Regions from separate parts of the Homo sapiens genome. Here region 1 is linked to region 2. The links are contacts of gene promoters, found by promoter capture Hi-C in blood cells and fetal thymus (Javierre and others, 2016). All regions are on one chromosome and are shown on one strand. The core of a region is centred on a gene start or on the middle of the fragment in contact, and the rest is flanking DNA. Distances in the headings are between cores, read along the strand shown. Region 1 overlaps SKAP2 (src kinase associated phosphoprotein 2). Region 2 holds the start of HOXA10-AS (HOXA10 antisense RNA).

Region 1 (6,206 bases), core at 2,669-5,168, 480 kb after region 2:
AAAAATATGTATTTTATTGCTGTAAAATAATAGTCTATTGAATAGACAGAACAGTCCTTTAGAAGTATAATAAAATATAGTAATATAAAAATCCTTCATATTACCAGTAGTTCTAGATTTATAGGCCCCTGGGGAGCTCACTTTCCCTTGCTGTCATAATTGTGAATCTTTTGCCCATACCCCTTAGATTCGACTCTAACTTTTCCAACCCTTCTTCCAGCCTTTGTGACTTGCCACAGGTCATGGGAGAGAAGAGCGGGTGGGGTTCCATTTGTATGTATCCTCCCAGTACTTCTATCTTTTACATTTTACCACTAGGACTAGCCGGTGGTGTCCTCTGTTCCCCCATGTCACCTCTTCCATCTCCCACTCGGGCATCTTGTGTGCAATGCCCAAATAGTGTGTAACTTTAGGAACAGAGGAGTGTGTTAAAAGCTAGAGGTGAGGAAGGGGAACTGGGAGAGGAGAAAGAAGACCATATATTTTGGGCAGCCCTGGTTGCAATTGTTTCTAAATCAGCACTAAAAAGTTTGCTTAAGATGTTCTTCAGATACGATGCTATGATAGTGTAGAACCTACTATTCTATGTGAAAATGTTTTCAAAGTCCACAAACAGACAGTATTTTAAGTAAAATTTTAGAAAGCAATCCACCTGTAAATTGAAGATTTTAATGAAAATAAAGGAGGAGACACTGTGGCTTAGAGTTAAGGCATATGCCTAAAGTTAAAATCCCAGCTTATGTACTAACTGGATGTATGAACCTTGACAAGTTATTCAAGCTCCATAAATTCATTTTTCATATTCATAAAATGGTGATGATAAAAGTACTTATAATTACCTCATAGAATTGTTGGAGGATTTAGTTACATAATGGATATAAATGCATATAATGTGAACATTTAAGCAATAAATATTCACATTTCCTGAGAAAAATATATAATATTAAATAATGCCTGGACAGGTGGAGATCTAAATCCAAACTTTATTTCAGAGCTTAACTTTTGATTCTGTGTTTTATGTTTTAAAGTACATTATAATTTAGTAAAGCTGTTTTCTGAGGGTATTTAGTGAGAAAGGTGATCATTATGTAAGTGAAAGATTTTTTATATCATCTTCCTCTTCTCCCTGGAAGAGATGATAAAATCAGTCCTCGGCCTTGATGTGAACATCGCATACCTTGAGTTGGTGTTAACAAATTTTCTTCAACCTTTTTTCAAGCAGTGTCAGCTAAATGGTGCCATTTGCTTATCACTCTTCTTTTTGGTTATTTATCCTAAAGATAAGAACATTAGTAAGCCGTAAATGCCCATTTTGTAAAAACTGCATAGCTAGACAGATTTGCAATCCCTATTAGGGTAATAATCCATCTGTTATGGAACTGGATCAATTTTGTAAATTAAATAGATTAAAAAGGGGGAAAAAGGGCCATGACTTTTCCCACAGTAAGCCTTTTCTCAAATGCTAAAAAGATTTGGGAAGACTCAAACTATTTGCCATTCTTCCTCTCTTTGCTTAACTCAGAGAGAAGGCCAAATATCTATTAAAAAGAGGGGTGGGTGCAGTTGTTTTTTTTTTTAATTCTTCAGGGTCTGATTGCTCCTGGAAGTTTCATATTTTTGACAGAGTTTATTGTTAAAACCTTTTGATGACTACCAGAACATTTCTGCTGTTCTCACTGATCAGTTTAGTAAATGTGTGACTATGTTTGAATTTTCTTCTGCACTTAGCTCACTTTACTGTTACTTTCATCCTGTCTGTTCAAAAAAAAAAAAAAAAATCTCCTGATGATTCTTCTAACAATGTGTGATTGGAATAATAACTTCACATGTTGAAGAGTTTTGTGCTGCAGCTGAGAGGCATGTAAATACAAGCTGCTTATTTGCAAGAAGCTTCCAGGTTTGCAATATGATTGCTATGGAAACCACATAATGAAAACCTTATAACCATCTGTGTGGTTTGATGGATTTTACTGCATAGCTGAGCTGTTTTTGTTTACTGTTATTAAAATGTTGAATGGAATATATTAACTCACAAACATTGACTACTTGAGGTATTAATTAGTATTGTACAATGACATTGTGCCTCAACACCAAAATAATACATATTTAATAATAAACCTAAATAAAAAAATATGTGAATGTATATATTTCTAATATATTGTGAAGGTGATTATTGCCTAGAATTTTGGTCACTTGTTCTTACATATTTTTAAGAGCTTTATTCTATTAATAAATGAATATGTTAAGATTTATTTGTATGATTTTTTTAATCCATTTGTTTATTCTGTATTTATCGAACATCTCCTTTGTGCCAAGTTCTATTCAAGGTTCAGTCTGAGGTTTTTTTCCCTGCCTAAGATTCAAAAACATACACCATATTTGATTTTGTTATCTTTTATATGGAAGCTATTTGTATTGTTAGCCAAGATAAAATGAGTTGTTTAAATATTGTTAAGAAAAATTGATATATTAAATGCATAAAGCTTTGGTTTAAAAATATCGCTACCAGGTTTAAAATGGAAAAAGGAAGTGTCCTTAATGAGCATCTCATCCTCTAAAATCTGCTTATTAAATGGCATCTTACATGGATTTCAATTTGGATATTTTATAGTAAACATTAATTCTTAAGTAAATACTTTTAATATCATTATTCTGATAATTTAAGAGTGCATATTTCTAAGAACAAAGCTCTCTGACACCAATATACAATCCAGAGCACATGTTACTGGCACTTAAGTTTTAATAAAATAAAAAATTCATAGTAACAAATACTTCTAAATTCATTGTTAACTTTGTCAAAGAGCAGAGTTTTTTCATTAAGTCTTGTAATGAATTTTTATATGTTCATGCTGATTTGGGTGGTGAAATCTAAATCCCACAGTCTCTTTTTTTTTTTTTTTTTTTTTGAGATGGAGCTTCACTCTTGTCGCCCAGACTGGAGTGCAGTGGCGCGATCTCAGCTCATTGCAACCTCCGCCTCCCAGGTTCAAGCGATTCTCCTTCCTCAGTCTCCTGAGTAGCTGAGATTACAAGCGCCTGCCACCATGCCATGCTAATTTTTGTATTTTTAGTAGAGACGTGGTTTTGCCATGTTGGCCAGGCTTGTCTCGAACTCCTGATCTCAGGTGATCCACCCGCCTGGGCCTCTCAAAGTGCTGGGATTACAGGCGTGACCGACCATGCCCAGCCCCCACAGTCTCTTCTTAAAAGCCACTAATAATACTTATTGTATTGATGCGGTTATAGCTTTTGACTGAGGACGAGTGCCTTTATCCATTTTTTAATTTATTTCTTACTATTGAATTTGTGACTAAATTAAAAGGGGAGTGGGTGCTATGGAAAGAAAGTGTGAAAAGTAAGGAAAGCTTTCTCCTTCACCTTTTACCAAATTATCTGTCAATAAAATGAGTAGGTTGGAATAATGACTGTAAACGTTCCTTCTACCTTTAAAAATTTATATGGAAACACCCTATTAACCCATTTATTAAAGCTAGCCTTTAAGGTTTGGCATAAGTGAGATAACTATTGTTAAAAAGAAAAGAGACAGGATACTTTTTAAAAGAGTGGTATACTTTTATTAGGTCTTCTATATATTTGACTGAACCATATTAAATTGTCAGTGTTATGTTTAACAATATGAATAAAATGCCAGATATTTTCAGGTGTCCCTTATATTGGAGTTGTCATTATTTTGTTTGAATTGAGTTACAGAAATTCAGAACAGTTCTATTTGTCGTGTAAGTACAGCTACCCTCTCAAGCTTGGTTGAAATGCTGATTTTGATTCATCCCCATTTAACATTTTCAGGAGACTCCTAAATTTCCACCTGTAGTCCTGACTGCTCTACCATACTTTGCAGTTGCCCAGACATGTTCTCTGGGTTGCCTCACCAATACATTAAATTCCTCCTGTTGAAAACACAACTCTTTGTGTTCCCCAGTAAGATAGATTATTTTGGCTATCCTCCTTTTAGTAATAATATGTCCATTTCTCAGTTAACTAAGCTCAAAACCTTAGCCATCCTTTGTTGCTCTTTTCCCCCCCCTCATTCCTCCACATTCAGGCACAAAGCTTATCCATTCTAGTTCCTTTACCTCTTATAACCATCTCCTTTCCATTTCCTTTGCCCCTTCAGTTCAGGACTTCCTTCCCCTTTATCCACAGTAGTCTCTCTCCCGCCCCTTTTTTAGGCTGTCTGAGACAATGGGATCAGATGTCCATTCCTGAAGCATAGCTTCAGTCCTGCCCTTTCTCTGCTCAAAAAACCTTCGAAGGCTCTTATTGCCCACCAAATAAAAGCCTGCAGTCCATAACAAGATGTTCATGGCCCCTCAACAGCTGGTCCAAACTATGAGCGTAACTCCTACCCAGCTCTTCCCCTATGTGTACCAGATTCTTTAGTCAAAATGAATATGAACATGCCTTTTTCTTTTAAAGATCATACCTATCCCTCCGGAAATATCCTTCTTATCCTCTCTCCTTATTTAAACTCTCTCCATCCCTTGGAGCCTCCGTGGTACTCCCTAGTTGGGGGGTTTCTCTGCTGCACTTCTTCAGTGCTTTGTGCATCACTTGTCAGGTTTAGGCCCCTTCAGCCTGTTTTCCTTTAGAGCTTGTCTTCTGTCCCATCTGTGCTGTCAGCTTCCTGTGAGCAGAGGCTTCCTGTTACTTTTACCTCCTTGGTAGATCTCTTCTGTCTCACAGTTAGTTAATATCCAATGAAGATTGATTGACTGATTGATTGAATAGTTACAATGACTACATTTATATATTTTGCATATTTTTCTTTAAAGTTTTAGGAGTTTTCTTGAAATTATGATTCTCTTTGAATCCAGTTTTTCTTTGGCATGCCATTTGTTTATATGTCCTGCCTTAAGTATTTCTAGGTTTGTATGCAAATCCTTAGGTGAGGAAAAATCATGTAATAAATATTTTTCTTGGTGTAAATGAATTAGTTTATTAAGTCTATTTAAAGCTCTTCTCATTTAATTTTATCTTATTTCTTTGCATAATTTGGGGAAGGAATGGTATAGGTGAGTGTGGAACAAATGTAAATGGAGCACTGATTATATGTAGGATAAAGAACATTGACTTTATAATCACAAACTTAAGTTCGAATGACACACTTTGGAAGTTACTTCACCTTTTTGAGTCTCTAAAGATAAACTTGTCTGTAGAATGAGGATTAAAAATTATTTGTCTATGAGATTTTAACATCCAGCATTGTATATGACACATAATAGGTCCTTGGTATAATTTTGGGGGAATTACCTCAAAGGATGAAGATCATTATAGTATCTTCCTGTGAAGATTGAGAAAACGTATGAAATTATGTGATACTCAAAAAAATGATTTATAGGTTAACTGCATTTTTAATCACACATTTCTCCTTGCTATATGATGTTTTAGGGACCATGATTTTATATATGATACTCCTGCCACACAGTACAATGTGGTGTATCAGTATAACGCTGGGTGTTACTTTACTGGATTTAAGGGTTTTCCTGAAATTAAGATTGTTCCAGATGAGTTTCTAAAAGTATTTAAAACAAAACATGCAGTGCATTAGTACATATCTTAAATTTTGCCAAGCCAGTTGGAAAGGTTGCTATTTGGAAGTAGCTAGTATTTTATTGGAAAGTTGGAAAGTTTGCTATGTGGAAAGTTGGAAAGGTTGCTATTTGGCAGTAGCTAGTATTTTATTTATTCAGTGTTAGATTGTCGAAAAAGGACTGTGAATCTTGAGTTATTTTATTCTTTGAAAAATAATGTTTATGTGTTATAAACTTTTAGTTTTGCTTTTAAAATTGAGTGAGTACTGTAGTGTTATCCCTGAGAAAACCCTTCAATGTGCCATTGATAATGTTTATTTACAGAAGAAGAAGAGGACAGTGCTCCAGTGAAAGTGGAAGAACAAAGGAAGATGAGTCAGGATAGTGTCCATCACACCTCAGGTAATGACTTGTGTAGCTTCTTGGCAAACCTTATTTTGCTTTTGTTCACTTTCATTTTATCCATGTTCTTACTGTTCTAAAGATGTTTACACAGCTCCCCAAAGTTGGCATTTTTGGCTTGGATATCTTATGGCTGATAAGCTGCTTAGTCCCATTTAGGATGCATGAAAACCACTTGAGAAGGATTTATAAAGTAAGCCAATTTATACAAGGTATTCCTTCCTGAATTACTTTGTAATGACTCAATTAGCT
Region 2 (6,440 bases), core at 1,285-3,784:
CTGTGCTGTGTTTAATCAGGGGATACAGGCCCCTGGGTTTCTTTTTTCTTTCTTCCTTTCTTCCTTGGCCAAGAGAAGGGCTTACAGGCATGGACATGCAGGTTGGCAAACGGGCTTGACTTTGGCTGATTTAAAAAGTGAGAAAGAAAGTAAAAAAGGTTAATTTTTCCTTCCTCTGTAAGATATCCCAGCTTTAAAAAGAAAAAAAAAGAATTACCAAGAGAAGGGGACTTCTCTTCCAGTTTCTGTAAGGTCTTACATTGCCTGACTAAAATGTTTCATTTACCTCTAAATTTCCATATCCTTCTGGCTGTAGATAAATAATGTAGTTTTGTTTATGCATTTGGAATTAGTGGATTTTTTTGTCATTAAAATTGTTACCACTGGTAACATGTGACAAGCACACCACAATTCTCCCTATCTTGTGAAGTTGTTTTTTTAAATCGCCTTGAACAAAAAGTTTTTTTTTTGTTTGTTTTTGCTTTCTGAAATTCACAGAAGCCTAGGAGGACTGGGGTAAGCGGAATAAACTAGAGAAGGGAGACATTGTTTGGATTTCCTTTATACTGTGAAGTTACATGCATAAAAGGGTCAAACCTGTAGATGCAGAAAAAGAAAAAAACTATAAATACAAATCTGTATAAATGTCTATTATTATGAAGAATTGCCAATCTTGTTTTAAGCAAATGCATTCTATCGTTATTATAAATGTTAGTTCTAGCTCTATTTACTTCTAATCTTAAATCAGAATAAATTAATATTGTATTGCTGCTGTGCGTGGAAAAAGACGATGTTTATGTTCTTATAGAATAAAAGCTGTGGAATGAAGCTTTTTAATTTTACCTCTTTTTTGACTTCTTATCTTCACCTTCCACTTTATCCCGTTCACCACTTTTACAACAGGAGGACTAACCCGAGCCCCTGCAATTACTTTAGGCATCTATTTAAATATTACCTAGACGGTCGTAATTTGTCTGGGCCCTATAGCCCTGGTGCCGTAAGGTTTGTCGGCTTTTGTTCAGTTTTATGGCTTGCTAGTATATCTGGATTGTGGCTGTCTTGGACCAGTGATTTCAGTTGAGAGGGGAGCTACATAGACAGAGGAAGCCAAACAGGATTTCTTTCGGGAGCCCCAGGGAGGCTTGCAGAGGCCGGTTATTTTGCGGGTGTCTGGGTCACAGATGACCCTCAATCTGAATCGGGGAGCAGGCCTGGCCCACAGCGCATCTCTAGCCGCTGGAGGCAGCGGTTAGGTGGACCCGGGCTGGACTGCATGGGGGCCTCCCCCTCCCCCAGTACGGCCTCCCCCACCTGGCGGCACTCCTTAGGGCCACGCGTTTCCTGCTTGCCAGAGTGGGGGGGGCGGGGGCTAAGGGGAGGGGGCGCAGGAGCGCGCGCCCCGGCGGGCGGGCAGCTAGGAGGGAGAGGGGGAGAGCGAGAGGCGGGAGGCCGGGGCCAGACAGGGAGCCGGGATCTGTACCGTCCCTGGCGCTTTCGAGCCTTCCACGGCTACCGCCTCTTGGCGCCGGCTCGCTGGGCTGCAAGATTTGGGAAAGCGGCGCGCACACTGCTTCTCGGAGCTGCTCTCGTCTCGCCTGCTCCCCGCCTTTATTCCTCTCTCCCTGCCTTTCCTCCCTCTCTTTTCCTCCCTCTCCCTCCCAGGAATACCTTACTGGGGCCTGTGGCTTCCCCTTCCTTGACGCATTTGCGGCCGCCTGGGGCACTCTGTTGCACTGGCGGGCGCAGGTTGCCTAGGGGCTGGGCTGGGCCGGGCCAGGCGCGATGGCAGGGTTCTCTCCTTGGCGGCGGCGGCAGCGGCGGAGGCGGCGGCGGCGGCGGGCGAGGCAGCCCTTCGCGGGCAGCACCAGAACTGGTCGGTGATTTAGGTAGTTTCCTGTTGTTGGGATCCACCTTTCTCTCGACAGCACGACACTGCCTTCATTACTTCAGTTGAAATCGTCTCCAGGTACCTCTGCGCGCGGGGGTCGGGCCGGGCGGGGCATCACGGCCCTGGTCGTGCCAGGCCTGCGGTGGCAACCTCGGCTTTCCCTGCTCAGGAGCCTCGTGTCTTTCTCCGCAGCGCTTTGCCAGCCGGCCGGCTTTCCCCTTCCACCACACACCTCCACCTGGTCACAGCAGGTAGGGTTAGGTTGGCTGCTCCTTCGCGGACGCCGGGGGCGTGGTAGGAATTCTGGGCTTTGGGCCATTCAAGGTCAGGGGCGCCCGCTTCCATCCTGAGCCTCCCACTGGAGGCCTGCGCCTGCCCAGGGACCTCCTGCCATTCTCTTGTAAGGCTGGAACACACACACACACACACACACACACACACACACACACACCAGTCCCGGGTGTGAGCTCAGGAAAGAACCTCCTTCCAGTGGAGACTCAGGCTGGACTAGGAAGGATAGGGCAGGCTGGGATCCTGGCCTTGTCACTTACCCTTCTCTCTGTAAGCTCGGCCGCTGCTAGGAGTCGCCTCTCTTTTCTTCCTTCTTTTCCCTGTCTTCCCTTCCTCTTTTATCTCTTCTTTCTTTTTTTCTTCTTTCCTTTGCTCCTTCCTGCTTTCTTTTCTTCCGTTGGTCTTTTTTTCATCTTCCGTCTCTGCCAGATTCTATCTCACCTCCTTATCTCCTTCCCAAAGCATCCTTGGGGAGGGGCCCAGAGCTGGCTTCAGGAGAGCCTAGGGGGTCTCACTTTCCTCTGCGGCTCAAGTAGAGGTTGGGAAGTCTGCCGAGGAAGGGCCCGCGTGGGGCGGCTGCCGAGGGCGGTGGGTTTGGGCCTGGTGTGTTACTCTGCAGACAAGGCCTCGGTTATGATCACGACCGGATGGCGGCAGCCTTGCGTTTCTTCGCCTGTCGCTAACGGCTGACTAGGAGATCTGATTAGGGGACATTCGCTGCAGCTTTGTGTGCCCATATCGAGGGCAGGGAGGCCTTCGCCAGCCTCACTGGGGACTGGAGCTGAGGCCCAACCAGCCTCGCTGGAGCCTGGCCATTCGCTGGGAAGCTCTTAGCTGGCTCTTCCCGGCCTGCCGGTCACAGCTTGGGGTTTGACCGCATTGAGGGAGACTGGCTAGGGCAAAGCTTGACTGCTTGCTTACTAGTGGCTTCCATTAGGTACAAAATATGTTCCATACAGCACCTTTGTGCAGCTGGGTGCTGGAGAAGGGGACCCTTCCAAGAGCCAGTATGTTTTAAATGGGCAAAAAGAATCCCAAATTCCAGAGCCATTGATATAAACTTGAGTCATCGTTCCAAATTGTAGTCTACAGATGGGAGCCAGTCTGACCATTTTCCCTACAGAAAACAGAAAACAAACTATCTCTCCCTACTCCCAACACACACAGTTACAGATTCGTGCCCACAAAGCTGTTTCCTTTCCCTGCCTGGACTGGAGGCCCAGGAACTCTTTCGTTGCACAGCCACCGACCTGCTGTCTGAAAGGACCACACACCCCATTCCCTTCAACTCCTCCCTGCCATTTTCTGGACCAGGGCATTGGATTTATTTCAGAGATCACAGTTTCAGAAATCTCAGTCGAGAAGGGGCCGCTTTAAATTATACTCATTTATTATTTCTTTATGCATACGCAATCTCTTTCACTTCGAAAATAAAAGCAGACAAAAAAGTCAGACTATTCTGGCTCCAAACCTTTGGGCTGAAGGAAGACAATATTTGGTTTTCTGATTTTTCTCCGCTTTCTAGGCACCAGTAACATCTGCTTAACACTCAACGCCTGCTAATTGTTCAGTAACTCTCTTATTTTGGGGCTAAGGCTGTTTAAAGGAACAGCTTTTTTACTTAAAAAATACTGAAATAATCAGTGTCTTCTCAGGCATAAAACGTGGAAAAGGCATCCAGACATGCCCAGCCCATTTGCAGACACTTAAAATTGGGAGCCAGGGTTTCCTCCAGGGTTAATTTTTTAAATGAAAATCTCAGAGGCCTGGCGGACTGCGGGGTATTTAGGACACGGTGGACTGTGGTGGGGGTGGGCATGACCTAGAGGAATTTATGGGGCAAGGAAAATATTAGGGGGAGGGAGATGAGGCGGACAGGACGGGGCCATTTCGGAGTTCATTGTGTCGGCCACTTCCCTCTTCCAGGCGCGGGTGCAGGAAGGGGCACCCAGTCGGTATCCGCGCGGCTTGGCAGCCTCGCTGGTATTTGGGAGTCCCAGCCGGAAGTGTGTCAGGGTGTTTGAGGGGGGGATTACTGGAACTGCTGGTGAGGATGAAGGCAAAAGAGAGAGAGAGAGATGGAAGCGCCCGAGGCCGCCAGCCTCGCCGCCAGGGAAGTGGGCTAATGAAAAACACACTGTTGCAGGCACAGTATCCACACGTGAATTTGATTACCCCTGTTCTAGGAGTCGCTGCTTTCTGTTAGGAATTGGGGGCAGGGGGAGTTTCCTTCCAATTAACGGAGTGGCGGCGACCTTTTAATTTACCCCCAACGGGTGAGAAATAAACTTCCCCAACGTGGCCAGGCCCAGGAATGGGACTGGAGTCGATGCCCTTTTACCCCTCCCCGTTCTAATTTCCAGCCCTGGCCTTGAGCTGTGGCTGCCTCTCTTTGGGCCTTGTACCTCTCCGCCGAGTCTCCGGGCCCCGTAGGTAACCAAGGCGAGGCCCGGAGTAGCAGCTGGAAAGGGAGGAAGGAGCCCTGAAAGGCTCACGCGGCCCCGGGACAGGCCACATCGGTGCGGGCCTCCCAGGTTCCGGAGCTGCGGGGTCTCTTAGGCGAGGCTGCCTTTTCCCAAACCGAACTTGCCTTCCATTCATGCCACTTGTAGTTTTTTCCCCAGCTGGGATTCACGGAGCGCAACCAGGCTTGCAGCGCTCATGGTTAGAGCCTCTGAGGCTGGAGCACAGGGCTGGGTCGCCAGCCGCCTGCGCCTGGGAATCCTGATTGCCAGCTGATGAGAAAGGCGGGCTGGGCGCGCGTGTGCGTGGGGTCGAGGGCCGGGGACCGAGCGCGCCGCACAACCAACCAGGCCCTCAAAACCTTCGCCCTGGTGGCGGCTGGCCGCTCCCTCCTGGCCAGCTCCTCCGTGGGGTCCTCGTAGCAAAGGCGAATTTAAGGGTTGCCCGGGCGCCCCTCGCTCCAGGCGGGTAGCTGTGGGGACCTACACCCGCGGTACTCCCTGAGCGGCCGGTCCCTGCCTGGAGTGCCCTGGTAGGGCCGGCGGCGGCTCCGTTTGGGACGGATCCTGCGTTGAATTTGACTTTTCGAGGGCGGCCGCGGGTAAACTCGCCTCTCCCGGGGACCGCAGGGATTATTTACAGGGAGCTCGCCAACCAAACACAACAGTCTAACCTTTCCAAGTCCTCGTAAATTTTTACAGCTGGGAGCCACGGCGAGGCAAACGAATCTGTTGGTCGTTTCCGACTTCCCGCCAGCCTGTGTGGCTTCTGAAACAATAACTCCTTATGAAATATCATAAATATAGATTTAAATACAGTAGAGCGACAATGCGATTTGGCTGCTTTTTTATGGCTTCAATTATTGTCTAATTTTATGTGAGGGGCTCCGCTGGCCGCACTCGCACGCGGGACCCGCGCCTTCTTGATGGCGTGATTAATTGTGATATAAAATAGTCCGCTTAAGAAGTGTGTGTATGGGGGGGGAGACGGGAGAGTACAGAGACAAGGCTAGATTTGATCTTTTAATCGTCGTTGGCCACAATTAAAACAAACCCCATCGTAGAGCGGCACGATCCCTTTACATAAAAACATATGGCTTTTGCTATAAAAATTATGACTGCAAAACATCGGACCATTAATAGCGTGCGGAGTGATTTACGCGTTATTGTTCTGCTGGACGGGCACGTGACGCGCACGGCCAATGGGGGCGCGGGCGCCGGCAACTTATTAGGTGACTGTACTTCCCCCCCGGTGCCACCAAGTTGTTACATGAAATCTGCAGTTTCATAATTTCCGTGGGTCGGGCCGGGCGGGCCAGGCGCTGGGCACGGTGATGGCCACCACTGGGGCCCTGGGCAACTACTACGTGGACTCGTTCCTGCTGGGCGCCGACGCCGCGGATGAGCTGAGCGTTGGCCGCTATGCGCCGGGGACCCTGGGCCAGCCTCCCCGGCAGGCGGCGACGCTGGCCGAGCACCCCGACTTCAGCCCGTGCAGCTTCCAGTCCAAGGCGACGGTGTTTGGCGCCTCGTGGAACCCAGTGCACGCGGCGGGCGCCAACGCTGTACCCGCTGCGGTGTACCACCACCATCACCACCACCCCTACGTGCACCCCCAGGCGCCCGTGGCGGCGGCGGCGCCGGACGGCAGGTACATGCGCTCCTGGCTGGAGCCCACGCCCGGTGCGCTCTCCTTCGCGGGCTTGCCCTCCAGCCGGCCTTATGGCATTAAACCTGAACCGCTGTCGGCCAGAAGGGGTGACTGTCCCACGCTTGACACTCACACTTTGTCCCTGACT

The links. Contacts are between HindIII fragments. The CHiCAGO score rates a contact against its expected background, and 5 or more counts as called.
Region 1: a fragment that was not itself captured here is called in contact with the fragment with the promoter of HOXA10-AS in region 2 in 3 of 17 cell types (total CD8 T cells, activated CD4 T cells and total CD4 T cells); the score reaches 5.6 in total CD8 T cells.

What each region holds. Positions count from the first base shown.
Region 1 is chr7:26,690,033-26,696,238 of GRCh38, reverse strand. It overlaps SKAP2 (src kinase associated phosphoprotein 2), which reads left to right. Exons shown (of 13, transcript NM_003930.5): 10 at 5,877-5,954. Among named protein-coding and RNA genes, the nearest start is that of LINC02860, 55 kb to the right of the region's middle. RefSeq lists an enhancer at 6,056-6,206. The HindIII fragment of the contact is 311 bases long and covers 3,763-4,073 here.
Region 2 is chr7:27,164,993-27,171,432 of GRCh38, reverse strand. HOXA10-AS (HOXA10 antisense RNA) reads right to left here and starts at 2,534. Exons shown (of 3, transcript NR_046609.1): 1 at 2,440-2,534; 2 at 1,669-2,126; 3 at 1-125. All of the region lies in intron 1 of HOXA10-HOXA9 (HOXA10-HOXA9 readthrough), which reads left to right. It overlaps MIR196B (microRNA 196b), which reads left to right and starts at 1,870; the gene lies at 1,870-1,953. HOXA9 (homeobox A9) reads left to right here and starts at 5,896. Exons shown (of 2, transcript NM_152739.4): 1 at 5,896-6,440. The coding sequence starts at 5,976. It also overlaps HOXA10. RefSeq lists enhancers at 1,668-2,258, 2,259-2,849, 4,039-4,757, 5,606-6,440. The HindIII fragment of the contact is 2,254 bases long and covers 832-3,085 here.